2 separate regions of the Homo sapiens genome follow, and region 1 is linked to region 2. Evidence: promoter capture Hi-C in 16 types of primary human blood cells and fetal thymus (Javierre and others, 2016). All regions are on one chromosome and are shown on one strand. The core of a region is centred on a gene start or on the middle of the fragment in contact, and the rest is flanking DNA. Distances in the headings are between cores, read along the strand shown.

Region 1 (2,700 bases), core at 32-2,531, 1.5 Mb before region 2:
CCACAGGGATCGCAACCCCGACACTAACCGCCGCCCTCTCCGCGCGGTTTTGTGCCCCTTCAGCCGGGTCCCTGGGCCAGTGACCTCCCTTTCCCTGCGACTGGCGGGCGACAAGGGAACAAAATCCTCCCGGCCTTCCCCTTCGCTCCCTCCCCCTTACCGTCTTGGCGGCCTCCGCCCAGGTCCTGCCCTTCTTCCTACGTCCCTTTTCCCTCATGTCGGGTCTTGAACTGACTGGGAGGCTCCCGTGTCCGGGCTCCGGCCGCCCTCCCTGCCTGCTCTGCCCTGCGCTGCTTTTCCCGCGGTGCCGGGAAAGGTGGGAGAAAAGGGAAGTCAGACCGGGGGGGCACCCAAGCAGAGGAAGCGGCGGGGGTGGTGCGCGGGGGGGTCTATGGGGCGGCCGGTCCTCTTGCTGCCGTTGCCACTGCTACCGCCGCTGCCATATTGGGTTCTTACTGTACAGGCTGCCGCTACGGTCATGTGACCGCTCCCGCGCGGCCGTCACTACTGTACGCAGCCGGCCGCGCGAACGAGCGCGGGCGCGCCCCCGCCTCCCAAGCCCGGCCGCTGAGCTATCGAGCCGGCGGTCTGCGGTACCTCGCCACGCCCCCGCCCTTCCGGTCTCCGCCTCTCCGCAGGAGCATGCGCGCCAAGGAGGCCCCGGCAGTAGCTGTAGTCTGACGCCTGGCGCTCACACCTACAGCGAATATCTGCCTGCGGAAGCGGAACCTGTGCCATCCGGGAAAGCTTACTGAGCGGATCCCGCCTCTTGCGAGGCGCTGCACAGGCTGTGTAGACCTGGGGAGCTGAACTCTTCCCTCAGTGGGTGGCTCTGCCAACTATCACTTTAGATCAGCCCTGCGTTTGTGTTTTCTCATTTATTTGCATTTTTACAGAGGTTATCTTTTTGAAGATAGGCAACAATTCTCGTCTGCCTATTAACCCCATTCGATAGGCGAAGCAACTGAGATTGAGTGACTTGCCAAGCTCATAAGTCTGGGATGTAGAGAAACCAAAAATCAAATTGCCAGCTCAGAGCCCTTTCCATCTCCCCAGAATGCCTCAAACTTAGGTGACTTTGTTTTTAAGGCCACCAGTAACTGCATCCATGCTTTTACATGTGAAGCTACTCATCAATGACAGAAATGGTGTCTTCTTTATTTCGGTGAGCTCAGTCCCTAGCATAGTGCCTGTACATATCAGGCGCCCAGTAAATATTTGCTGAATGATTCACCTATTTCTGTGGTCAGAGACCATTATTTGTAGTATCCGTAACAGCTTTCTGAAAGATCCAGAATGTGGCATCTTCTCTTACATCATCTACACCTTGATACCTTGCAAAGTAAGAAGAATGTAGTAACAACTGCTGATCTCCCAAATCCACCTGCTTCCAGAAGCTGCTTCCAAACAATCCAGTAAACTTACTATAGTGTGAAATAGGACTGAGGATTGGATTGCCTCTTGGGAGGAAAGACAGGTGAGAGCAATACTTAAAGTTTATGGATGCGTTTCAGAAATTCATGGACTCCCTAAAATTATGAACTATATTTTGTGTGTTATATGTGAATTTTTTAAGAGGATTCATAACTTTTCCTCCATTTTTCAAAAAGGATCTGTTGTGCAAAAAAAAAAGAGAAAAAGATATTAAAGGGAGTTTGAGAGGCCATCTAGAAGTATCTAGATACTTCCTTATATTTCCGTTCAGTCATGGATCAAACAGCCTATTTCAGCAATTGATATGGATATATTTTCCCAAATGTCTTTGGTAATTCATAGCCTTATGCATTACACAGGTAGTATGTACCACCTCCCTCCAAAGCTTATGTCTGTAGTCTAAGAAGGCCTTCTCGCCAGGTGCGGTGGCTCACGCCTGTAATCCCAGCATTTTGGGAGGCTGAGGTGGTCAGATCACTTGAGGCCAAGAGTTCAAGACAAGCCTGGCCAACATGGAGAAACCCCATCTCTACTAAAAATACAAAAATTAGCTGGGCCTGGTGGCATGCGCCTGTAATCCCAGCTACTTGGGAGGCTGAGGCAGGAGAATCGCTTGAACCTGGGAGGCAGAGGTTGCAGTGAGCCCAGAGATCGCGCCATTACACTCCAGCCTGGGCAACAGAGCAAGACTCTGTCTCAAAAAAGAAAGAGAGACAGAGAGAAAGAAAGAGAAAGAGAGAAGAGAAAAAAAGGTCTTCTCCATCCCTGGCTGTTGAGCTGAGTACAGCTTATCATCCAGTCCTGTTGTTTGGTCCTGGAGCCCCAACTGGTTTTCAGACCTTACTAGGGTCCTTACTTTGCATTTCTGGAGCTCTATCCCCAGGTTTGAATTTCAAGGGTAGGGATTGTGATGTTGTGGTTCCTACTTCTTAATCTTCCACAGATACAGATAGTTTATTATTATTATAAAAGTATAATTCCCCAAAAAGTATTTTGTCCCCATGTCTATTGATTGAATTTGTTATGTGTATTTGCATCTCTCTCATCATCCCCACCCTCCTTCTGGATTTCCTTAGATAGTCTGTTTCTTTTCTCACCCTACTCAAGCCCATCCTACAGGGAATGCCAAATCTATCTTCTTAAAACTCCACCCACTACCCTACTAAGATATCCTCCCTAAGATATCCTCTTGATTGAGTCACAGTTTCTTAGCTTTACAGATACAGTTTCTATAATCAACTTAGTCATCCTTTGATGTATCTCTGG
Region 2 (2,700 bases), core at 75-2,574:
GTTTCTCCAGCTGTGCTGGGGCTGGCCTTAGGAGGTGGTCCTCCTTGTTCCCCTTTTCTTGCCTGTTTCAGGGCCCGCTCGGCCTCCTGCTTGGCTCGACGCTCAGCCCGAAGTTCGGCCTTACTCCGACCAGCTGGAACTTTCTCCCGAGGAGTGCCCAACTGAATGCCCGATTCTGGCAGTTCTCTGGTTGGGCCTACTAAAAGCATTAAAAAAAAAAATGCCCAAGCTGCAGGCAGGTGATATCCGTGCCCCAGCTAAAACTAGCTTCTCTCCTTGTAAACCTCTTTGCTTTACACACTTGCTCAAATCAACTTTGTCCTGTCTCTCCCTTATCTCTCCCACCACATCCCTCTACCAGCTCCACACCCCAGCCCTTTAAAAGAGACCCCTCACTCACCTTGACATTGGGCTGCAGATACAGCAGAGCCAGTCTCTGGTTCTGCCCCCTTTTCTTCCTTCCGTTTCTTCTTCTGCTGTTTCTTTTCCTTCCGAAGCTGCAGCTTTTCTTCTTTGGTCATTTCCCTCCCCACTGCCTGAGACACAGACATAGGATACTGCTCTTCCCCAACAATTCCAAAGGGGAACAAATACTATTGGATGCTTACAAGATTTCCACATGGTTAAATCCCTAGTTCTTCCTAACTTCCACAAGCTACCTGTTGCAAGCTTACATCCACAGAGGCTGACGTTTCTCCTCCAGGGACAGAATCATATATCCCTAGGGTTGCAAGACCTCTGTAAAATCTCCTGGCTTTACTGAGAAATAAACCGACACGGGATGGGAGCTGGGGCGGAATAAAGCTGGCACAGCCTCCTGCGTAGCGCTTGGCAGGCGGCTTGGGAGGGAAGCCTCACTTACCCCAGGCCCAGGGGGAAGCTCCGCCTTCATCCCGGATCCCGAGTCTGCATCAGAAAACAGGGCACAAAGTGAGCCAGAGAGACTCCGGGAGGGTTTGGGGGCACGAGTACTCGGCGCAGCCGGCTGCTGGGTTGGCATGACCACGGATCCGCCGGCAGGCGCGAGGCGAGCCAGGGATCCGCGTGGGGACGCACTGCGCGGCGGATCAAAGGAATGGAGGGGTCACCGACCCTCCTCACAGCAACCAGCCGGTGCGCGGCGCGGGACTGCGCTCGAGACTGTGTAGACCGGAGCCCAGCGTGGCGCTGGAACGGAGCGGCGGGGCCCAAAGGCGCTCAAGGCCCGGCACTAGCTGTCCGGAGCTCGTCGGCTCCGCGTACCAGTAGGCAGGCCCGGCTCTTCACTCACCCTCGCGAACAGCCACGGCCACAGCAGCCATCGCCCTCAGTCCTAGGCTCCGCCCGCCGTGGTCACGGAGCCGCCCCGCTGCCTCGCTCCGCGGCTGCAGGGTCCACAGCGCCACCTGGGCTGGAGGCTGAGCCGCAGAAGCGAAGCGCGCAGCCCCAATCGGACTACAATTTCCGACGGGCCCCGAGGCCCCGCCCCGCACTACGGGTTGCAATGAGGGCCAACTCCACTTTGGGCTCCCTATCCGGACAGGTGGCTCTTGCCCTTTAGACTACAGTTCCCAGCATGCCCAGGCGATTGCGTCCCAGAACCGACGTCCCACCGCCTTCCCACATCGGATCGCAGGGCTCCCAAAATGGCGAGTGAGGCTGCGGGGACTCGCTGAGCAGCGGAGGGGGAGCGTGCAGAGCCGCTGCGGCCCTCACAGTCCGGAGCCCGGCCGTGCCGTGCCGTAGGGAACATGCACTTTTCCATTCCCGAAACCGAGTCCCGCAGCGGGGACAGCGGCGGCTCCGCCTACGTGGTGAGGAGCGGCCGGAGCCGAGCCGGGCCGGGCAGGGGCGGGGATAACGGGCCCGAGCCATCTCGGAGCGGCCTCTGAGGCCTGACCGCCACCCTTCGGGCCTGGTCCTGGGCCGCCGACTCCCGACGGCCTCTCTGGGAGCTTATCTCATGTGTGTGATTCGTGCAGTGGTCGCCCGAGCTCCTGTAGGCCCTTAGGCCGGGTCGCTTCCCCGAGCTAGGCCGCAGCTGCCCTGGTGGGCGTCACTGGCCTCTTGGGCAGTGAGACTGCAACACAAGCGTCCGAATTTCCCCCGGACTGGCTCTTCAGCTTTGGGACTTGGCCCTGGCGAAAACAAGCGAACTATCCCTCGGGAGATTAGCGCGTTACTCCGGCGAGTTGCCAGGCAACTTCCGGCCAGGGTTCTCAGGGGGGTTGCGCAGACCGCAACCCTAAAATGCTTGACTACTTTTGTGTCCTCAGGCCTATAACATTCACGTGAATGGAGTCCTGCACTGTCGGGTGCGCTACAGCCAGCTCCTGGGGCTGCACGAGCAGGTGGGACTAGCACCCCTGCCTTGAGACAGCTTCAAGCCCTTCCCTACACGTGGACATCAGTGTCTCCCTTTACCCGCTCTTCTTGTTCCCGTAGGCTGTAGTTCCCCTTTAATCACTGCCACAGGGTAGGGCCCTGGTTTATCTTGTCTGACATTTCCGGGAACTCCCTAAGAAGCTTAATGTCCGCGCAACAACTGCTCCTTCCTGTTCTTATATTCTGGTTTTCTGTCCAGTCTTACTGCTCTAGTAGCCTTTACCCCTGCATGGACAAACCAACCCCTCCCCCCACTACCTCCACCCAGGCTGTCAAAGCACATTCCTTCTGTCATCTGAGCGGCAACTTGAAATTCTTTTCCCTGCTTATACAAAC

What was found. The method cuts DNA at HindIII sites, captures the fragments that hold promoters and counts their contacts. A CHiCAGO score of 5 or more calls a contact.
Region 1: a fragment that was not itself captured here is called in contact with the fragment with the promoter of EIF2B4 in region 2 in 1 of 17 cell types (fetal thymus); the score reaches 6.0 in fetal thymus.

The regions. Positions count from the first base shown.
Region 1 is chr2:25,878,006-25,880,705 of GRCh38, forward strand. It overlaps ASXL2 (ASXL transcriptional regulator 2), which reads right to left and starts at 482. Exons shown (of 13, transcript NM_018263.6): 1 at 161-482. The coding sequence starts at 217. RefSeq lists a silencer at 502-661. The HindIII fragment of the contact is 1,072 bases long and covers 746-1,817 here.
Region 2 is chr2:27,369,014-27,371,713 of GRCh38, forward strand. EIF2B4 (eukaryotic translation initiation factor 2B subunit delta) reads right to left here and starts at 1,325. Exons shown (of 13, transcript NM_001034116.2): 1 at 1,271-1,325; 2 at 863-906; 3 at 401-536; 4 at 1-199. The coding sequence starts at 1,301. SNX17 (sorting nexin 17) reads left to right here and starts at 1,603. Exons shown (of 15, transcript NM_014748.4): 1 at 1,603-1,793; 2 at 2,256-2,330. The coding sequence starts at 1,731. RefSeq lists enhancers at 571-1,532, 1,006-1,285, 1,506-1,595, 1,533-2,494, 1,616-1,675 and 1 more. The HindIII fragment of the contact is 1,836 bases long and covers 668-2,503 here.